Linked DNA regions of Homo sapiens: all the other regions are linked to region 1. Evidence: promoter capture Hi-C in 16 types of primary human blood cells and fetal thymus (Javierre and others, 2016). All regions are on one chromosome and are shown on one strand. The core of a region is centred on a gene start or on the middle of the fragment in contact, and the rest is flanking DNA. Distances in the headings are between cores, read along the strand shown. Region 1 holds the start of CHDH (choline dehydrogenase). Region 2 overlaps DCP1A (decapping mRNA 1A). Region 3 holds the start of LOC107986087 (a long non-coding RNA gene).

What was found. Contacts are between HindIII fragments. The CHiCAGO score rates a contact against its expected background, and 5 or more counts as called.
Region 2: a fragment that was not itself captured here is called in contact with the fragment with the promoter of CHDH in region 1 in 2 of 17 cell types (megakaryocytes and erythroblasts); the score reaches 5.1 in megakaryocytes.
Region 3: a fragment that was not itself captured here is called in contact with the fragment with the promoter of CHDH in region 1 in 1 of 17 cell types (M2 macrophages); the score reaches 5.0 in M2 macrophages.

Annotation. Positions count from the first base shown.
Region 1 is chr3:53,844,969-53,847,668 of GRCh38, reverse strand. CHDH (choline dehydrogenase) reads left to right here and starts at 1,250. Exons shown (of 9, transcript NM_018397.5): 1 at 1,250-1,586. It overlaps IL17RB (interleukin 17 receptor B), which reads right to left and starts at 1,101. Exons shown (of 11, transcript NM_018725.4): 1 at 1,021-1,101. The coding sequence starts at 1,080. RefSeq lists enhancers at 1,053-1,347, 1,294-2,134, 2,135-2,700 and a silencer at 1,053-1,702. The HindIII fragment of the contact is 5,797 bases long and covers 1-2,700 here.
Region 2 is chr3:53,312,985-53,315,684 of GRCh38, reverse strand. All of the region lies in intron 4 of DCP1A (decapping mRNA 1A), which reads left to right. Among named protein-coding and RNA genes, the nearest start is that of SNORD38C, 19 kb to the left of the region's middle. The HindIII fragment of the contact is 1,586 bases long and covers 515-2,100 here.
Region 3 is chr3:53,269,820-53,272,519 of GRCh38, reverse strand. It overlaps LOC107986087 (a long non-coding RNA gene), which reads right to left and starts at 2,546. Exons shown (of 4, transcript XR_001740702.3): 1 at 2,340-2,546. RefSeq lists enhancers at 217-1,102, 1,720-2,700 and a cis regulatory region at 1,766-2,642. The HindIII fragment of the contact is 1,055 bases long and covers 877-1,931 here.

The DNA.
Region 1 (2,700 bases), core at 1-2,500:
GCGCCTGCCACCATGCCCGGCTACTTTTTGTATTTTTAGTAGAGACGGGGTTTCACCATGTTAGCCAGGCTGTTCCCAAACTCCTGACCTCAGGCAATCCGGCCGCCTCAGCCTCCCAAAGTGCTGGGATTACAGGCGTGAGCCACCGAGCCCGGCCAGACTTGACTTTTTTTTTTTTTTTTTAACAAATGAGCCATCATACCAGGAGCTGAGTTCTTATCAAACGGCCGGTGAGAGGCCAAGCAACAACCCTAAATGCTACCAAGCTCAAATTGTTGGCCTTGCAGCAACTACAGCAAAAGGGATGAATTCTTCCCTTTAGTGCAAAGAGCCAAGAGGGCTTCTGAACTGACACAGAGGGGAAGGATAGGAGCTGAAGACATCAGGAAACAGTGAATGGGGTTTGTCCACCAGCAGGTGACTACGGAGCTTGATGCTATATGCTATTCTAAGAGGGCAGCGGTATCATTTCAAAGGTTATTTGGGGGATGAGCTATTTTCTCTTCAGTGACCCAGAAGATTCCCTCGATCATTCAGGGTACTGGGGAAGAAAGGCAACTGCCTTCACGAGTGAACATGGCAATCAATATGGCCAAAAAGGGAGGGGGTACTAATGGAGAAACAGTTCTTGTGCCCCAACAGGTGAGCAGACCCCAAGTAACAATAACTACGTGCCAGGCCCTTCGCCGCTAATTGCAGGCCATGTCGTTATACCTTAAGAGACCCTGGTGGGTTCGGTACTGCCCTTCGTTTTACCGTTCGGGACTTGGAACTTGGTGAGCATAAATGACAGAACCAACAGTACAGGGTGGCATCTGAGACCGGGTCTGTCTGATTCCCACGCCCCTGACTCAAGCAACCTGACGCCGATGTCCGGGGCTGCCCTGAGGGTGCAGGCATGCCCCTTGAGCCGGCAGTCCGCGCACGCCTTCGGGGCAGCCTGGACTGGCGGATCAGACGACGTCAGGATCTGGGCTCGAGGGCCGGGAGATGAGGGAAGAGGTGCTGGCGGGGGCTTACCGGCTCTCGGGGTACGGCGCTCCTGCACAGCGCGGCCAGGCTTAGCAGCACGAGCGACATCGCCGGGCCACTGCGCGGGATCCAGGCCACCCGCACGCTGCGCTTTTATCCCGGCGCCGCCGGGCCGCCCCTTCTCGGCTCCGCCTCTCGCAGCGCCGACCCATTCCCGCCACCCGAACAGAGGGCGGGCCCGCTGGCCCCCTCCCAGGCTGGGGCAGGTCGCAGCGCCCTCGCCTGCTGGGGCTCGGAGGGATGGGCCGTGTCCGAGCGCTGGCGGAGCACGGGCCGCCGCGGCGCGCGCCTACCCCCGCGCACACGTGCATGCAGTGAGCCAGGTGCATCAGCTGCACCCGCCCTCGGGCTTCGCGCGCCTCCGCTGGAGCCCAGCTAGCCTCGCGGCTCCGGGGCCGACCGGGTCGGAACTGCTGCGTCCCCATTCCGGACGCAGAGAGCGCGCGGGGCGCCGGCGCCGCCGGTTAAAGTGCCGCGGGGCAGGGGCCGGGCCGCGGCCACCCGCTCCTCCCGCTCCGGTCCCGACTGTCGGGCTCTCGGCCGAGTCGCCCCGGGTGAGTAGCCGCGGAGGCGCCCCGACCACCCCGCAGCAGCGCCGCCCGGCCGCTAGCCCGGAGAGGCCTGGGGGCCGGAGGTTTGGGGCCGGGCTGGACGCCGAGACCCGGGCCCGCTTTACACAATCGCCCCGCCGCGCGAAGCGAAACGGGTGGAACGCAGACTGCCGAAGCTCACTGACTCCTTTGAGGGAGCGAATTCTTTCAGCTACGCGGGGTTAGAGCGGTAGGAGTGCCCGCTGCCCGACCCCAGGCTTTCTGGTAAATGTCTGTTTCCACCAAGTGAGTTCGGACAGCAACACCTGGGGCTCCCAAAGCGGAAGCCGTCAGCACTGGCGATTTGGAGCTGCGGTTCTCAAGTTTCCCTGGCCCGGGATCTCTAGCGCCGCCTAAAATGAGATCCAGACGGCAGGTCCGGGTCAGGCCCGGGATCTGCATTTAACGAGCCTCCACCCACGCCCCCGTAATTCGTGGGTGGGTGGCCCAGGGACCATCCTTTGAGACACAGTGGGTTTGGGGGAAAGTTCACAAAAATCAGCTGGGCTAACAGTGGAGTCACAGAGGCTGGAACTGCTGCTTCAGCCCCCTCGGTTTGCAAACGACAGGGTTGTGGTGACCAACTCAGGGCCATTTAAACTTGTAGGCAGAATTAGCTCCATTCTACAGATGAGAAGACGGAGGCCTAGAGAGGGGTATGGAACTTAGGGGTGTGTTGTCAGCTGGTGAGAGGCTGTACTAAGTCAAGCAGCTGTTTTAGCTGAGGCCCTACTTGTGTGCCAGGCCTGGCCCACCTGCCAGCTTGATTAAGGCTTGCATGGACTGGGGATCAGCCAGGGGTTTGGGCTCTGGCATGCATACGTGTGGAGTTGCAGGTAGCATTTTCAGAGAATTGCTCTGTTTCCTGACCAAGGAACTCAGTTGAGGTTGTGGCCGCACCCCTGCCTGGGACTGGGCCACCCTGAGCCCCTCATTCCACCTCTCTGAGTTGCTTTGGGCCCTGTGGCCCTTGAGAACATTTTCAGCTCTAATAGTCATCTTCCTGTTCAGCAAATACCTGCTGGGTGCAAAGGTGAACCACACATGGGTGCTGGCTGATGGGTACTCCTGGAGTGAG
Region 2 (2,700 bases), core at 58-2,557, 530 kb after region 1:
GTGAGCTTCTAGACCCTATGTCATCTAAATTTGTATATTCTCTGGTCAGTGGTGGCAGAGTTGAAAACCCACTAAACTTAGAAGCTGTTGACTCTCCTAAAGAGGAAATCCAGTCTGCCAGAAACTCTTTTTTTTTTTTTTTTTTTTTTTGAGACAGAGTCTTGCTCTGTCACCCAGGAATGTGGTGGCGTGATCTGGGTTCACTGTAACCTCCGCCCTCCTGGGTTCAAGCAGTTCTCCTGCCTCAGCCTCCCGAGTAGCTGGGATTACAAGTGCCTGCCACTGCACCCAGCTAATTTTTGTATTTTTAGTAGAGACAGGGTTTCACCATCTTGACCTGGCTGACCTTGAACTCCTGACCTCATGATCCACCCACCTTGGCCTCCCAAAGTGCTGGGATTACAGGCGTGAGCCACCACACCCGGCCTCAGAAACTCTTTTTAACAATAAAAAGTTGTTTGACGGTTTGGCCACATAGACTATGTAAACTTTGGAGAACTCATGGAAGTAAGCTTTATTCCTGATCTTACAGACATCTTAGGGGTAGGTTTTGGTGTTTGAAAGGAAAGGAGAATGGCATGAGTGCTATCCATAAAGTTTGGATTAGAAGAGGCCTTAGAGTCCAAGCCTCGTTTATGTGAGAGTCCCTTCCATTACCACCCCCGACAGCTTCTGCTTTCAGCAGTGGTGAGCTTTATAAAATTACCTGTTCTGGCTGGGCGCAGTGGCTCACGCCTGTAATCCCAGCACTTTGGGAGGCTGAGGTGGTCAGATCACTTGAGGTCAGGAGTTCAAGACCAGCCTAGTCAACATGGTGAAACCCTGTCTTTATTAAAAATACAAAAATTAGCCGGGCATGATAGTGCATACCTGTAATCCCAGCTACTAGGGAGGCTGAGGCACGAGAATCGCTTGAACCCGGGAGTCGAAGGTTGCAGTAAGCCGAGATCGCACCACTGCACTCTAGCCCGGGTGACAGAGTAAGGCTCTGTCTCAAAAAAAAAAAAAAAAAAAAAAGAAAAAGAAAAGAAATATTCTTCTCTTAAACCAAAATAATCACAGAATCACAGATCCTAGTCTGGGTCAGGGAAGAGTTAAATACCAGCATGGCCAAGTCAGGCAACATGTCAGGAGGTAGGTGGAAAACAGGCCGTGTGACAGATCCTTTATGAAGATGGATTCAGGCTGATGTGGCCTATATTTGAGCATTAAATAAACAATTCATGTTTGGTCTTATTCTCATATCCCATACCAGTCTTTCAGTCTACCATGAAGCTCATGATGCTACATTTGTTTTAGAAGTAATAGTCTTATTAAGAGCTATAATTATGAATCTAGATAGAAAAACTACATGTTACCTTAAAGCCACATTTTCCAAACAGGAATTCTACCTCAGAGTAAAATTCTATAGTCAAATAAAATTTGAGAAAATCTATAGGCCTGCCCTTCTTGGAGAATCACAATAAATTTTAGCATGCTTAAAAATCAACTGGCCAGTTGTGGTGGCTCATGTCTATAATCCCGGCACTTTGGGAGGCTGAGGTGGGAGGATTGCTTGAGGCCAGGAGTTTGAGACCAGCCTGGGCAACATGGTGAGACCTTGTCTGTACAATAAAAAAATAAATAAAACAAACAAACAAAAATTCAATGGGTGGGTTGTGGTAATTCATGCCTTTAATCCCAGTATTTTGGGAGGCTGAGGCAGGAGGATCACTTGAGACTAGGAGTTTTGGGACCAGCCAGGGCAACATATCAAACTCCATCTCTACAAAAATAATAATAAAACTCAAGGATTCTGTTTTTTCTTTTTTTTTAAGTCGGTTTAATATTGTTTAACCCAGTATTTTTAAATAAAAAAGCCATCTCTGTTCACCTCTTCCCCACACTCTAATGAGAGCTCCTGTGCAGGCTGGGTTTTTTGTTTTTTAAAACAGGGTTTCACTATGTTGCCTGGGCTGGTCTCAAACTCCTGGGCTCAAGTGATCGTCCTGCCTCAGCCTCACAAAGTGCTAGGATTATAGGCATGAGCACTGTGCCTGGCCTGAATGAATCTTAAAAAAAACAAAAAAAGTTGCTTTATTAAAATTTATTATTCAAGCTTGAAAGCTTGAAGAAAAATATAGGAAATAATAAAATATGTATGTGCTTACCACCCAGCTTTCAGTTCCTAATATTTTGCTGTAATTGTTTCAGATCTTTCTTTACAAGGGAGAAGGGGGTGTTCTTAAAAACTGAAAGCCCACTTAGTGATTTTTTTTTTTTTTTGGAGTCAAGGTCTCACTCTGTTACCCAGGCTGGAGTGCAGTAGTGTGATCTCAGTTCACTGCAGCCTCTACCTCCCAGACTCAAGCAGTCCTCCCACCTCAGCCTTCCAAATAGCTGGGACTACAGGCGTGTACCACTACGCCCAGCTAATTTTTGTATTTTTTGTAGAGACGGGGTTTTGCCAAGTTGCCCAGGCTAAGTTGGTGGTTTTTAAAAGGGAGAATAAGGGAAACCTTTTATTTGCTTATAGTGTTACTAACTTTTAAGGATTCACCAAGACCTCTATTTTCAAGAACTGACTTTGTCCTTGCTAGCCCAGTGTCAATCCAAACTTTCCACAGAGGATTTGTTCAACTATGCAGCCTTCCTGTGTCTTGGTGGAACTGTCAGTTTTCATATTTACTTTAGCAATTAGTTTGACTGATTTTGAAATAC
Region 3 (2,700 bases), core at 155-2,654, 580 kb after region 1:
GAACCCAGGAGGCAGAGGTTGCAGTGAGCCAAGATCATACTACTGCATTCCAGCCTGGGTGACAGAACAAGACTCTGTCTCAAAAAAAAAAAAAAAAAAAAAAGAATTTTTGAAATGATTTTTTGTACACACAATTTTAAAATAATATTCTCTAATTGTAATATAAAGGAGAAACGTTAATAATGAAATGTTTCATATTAAATATGTATGGGGCACACCTGTAGTCCCAGCTACTCAGGAGGCTGAGGCAGGAGGATTGCTTGAGCCCAAAAGTTCAAGTCTAGCATGGGCAGCATAGAAAGACTCTGTTTTAATATGGAAATGCTTGGGCACAGGTACACAGGTACACAAATTCCCAAAATACCCCATAGAGGACCTCCGGTCTTCCCTCTGAAACCTCTCCATACATCGCTGAAAAGCATGCTACTCTCCCACATAACATCTGTGGAGGAGCCAGCCACAGTGGCTCACGCCTGTAATCCCAGCACTTTGGGAGGCAGAGGTGGGTGAATCACTTGAGCTCAGGAGTTTAAGACCAGCCTGGGCAACATGGCAAAACCCATCTCTACCAAACATACACACACACACACACACACACACACACACACACACACACACAAAGCCAGATGTGGTGGCATGCACGTATAGTCCCAGCTACTCGGGAGGCTGAGGTGGGAGGATCACTTAAGCCCAGGAGGTCAAGGCTGCAGTGATCTGTGTTCACACCACTGCACTCCAGCTTGGGTCTCGAAAAAAAAAAAGAGTCGGCCAGGCGCGGTGGCTCACGCCGGTAATCCCAGCACTTTGGGAGGCTGAGGCAGGCGGATCACTTGAGGTCATGAGTTTGAGACCAGCCTGGCCCACATGGTGAAAGCTTGTCTCTACAAAAATAAAATTAAATTAACATAAAAAGAATACATATTGAAATGAATGTATTTCCTCAATCCCCTCTTCACCCATGCCAGCTAGACACAGACACAGTTTTGTTGCAGAAAATTCTGTTATTTCAAAACTGGCTGTCACCCCCTCCTTGGCGCCTTCCCAGATCAACAACCTCAGCAGGCAATTGTTTGTACAAATCACTGGACAGTGCGGTATAAACACGTGCTGCTGGGGCATCCAGCACCTGTGCCCAACACATAGACCCTGGTAAATGAAGTGTTGAGTGAAATCAGAGGACCAGTGATGGCAAAACCACTTCCCTGCCCTGACCAGATAGCCAGCAGCAGCACTTTTCTTTTTGCACAGTAGCATGGAACAAACGCTTTTTTTTTTTTTGGTGATGGAGTCTTGCTCTGTTGCCCAGGCTGGAGTGCAGTGGCGCCATCTTGGCTCACTGCAACCTCCACCTCCCAGGTTCAAGCGATTCTCCTGTCTCAGCCTCCCAAGTAACTGGAACTACAGGCACCCACTACCACGCCCAGCTAATTTTTGTATTTTTAGTAGAGACGGGGTTTCACCATATTGGCCAGACTGGTCTCGAACTCCTGACCTTGTGATCCGCACACCTCGGCCTCCCAAAGTGCTGGAATTACAGGCGTGAGCCACCGCACCTGGCCTAACAAATGCTTTTCTGATGCCTTGTCCAAGTCACTAGAACAGGATGGCTGACTGGGTGCCCTTGCTAATTCTGGAGGCAAGGATGGGAAGAGAGAGAGTAAAAGTCATGTGTCTGGGGGCCAAAGAACCCTGGTTTGGGAAGTGAGATATCTCCTCACTCACTTTCTCAGGTGACCTTACAAGGGAAGTGCTCCTGATGGTTTCAGGTTTTCCAGGAGGAGCTGTGGCTCACAGTGGTTAAGCAACCCCTCTGTGAGCCACTCTCTGGAGCTTTTTAGTCCTACTCTAAGAAGCCAGTTTCACTCTCAGCTGTTCAACAACCAGCCCAGGAGAAAATCCACTTAACCTCCCCACGACACAAAACAAAAGCTTTAATATTTAATACCCACTGGAACAAAATAGCTCCTTCCACCACCCCAGCCTTGCTCAGGGAAACCCAAGAGGTACCAGAAAAGGGGACAAGGATGAAGATCTCTCCCTACTGCGTCCTGCAGACTGTGCAGGAGGAGCCCCTAAGAGTGTCCTGTCTGTCACCAGCACCGCCCCTGCCCAGCCCAGCCTGTCCAGCGCCCCTGGGCAGGAGTTGACAGGGGCTGTAGGGCGTTGCTGGAAAGCAGCTCCTGCTCCTCACACTAGGAGGTACCCAGGCCTACGGCAGTGCCACACAGAGCCTGACCGCACTAGTCAAAAAGTGCAAGTCACAATGACTCGGCATGTTTTCTTTATGCACAAGGAAAGCAGGCCCGGCAGGGCTTGGCTGGCCTCACACTGGCACTTACCTCCGAGGAGTTCCAGGCCTCTCCAGCCCCAGGCCTTCTAGGGTGAGTCAGAGGGCCAACAATCCAGTCTGGCCCTGGGATTGGCCAGGGACAAGCAGGGTCATGTCTGCAGGGGCGACCAGAAAAAAACCCTCTCTCCTGGAGGCACAGTGCTAGATGGAGGGAAAGCACAAGTATTGTTTGTTGCAGTATAAAAGCAGAAGTATTGCAAACATCCAACCAAAGGGGGACAGTGGTTCAACTTCCTCTGTGCCAGTAGTAATCCTAGGGTAGAAAAGAATGTGGACTCACGTGGGGAAAGACGCACAACCTGTGGAGCATTAACATCTTTATTTAAAATATTGATGCAGACAGGCGGATC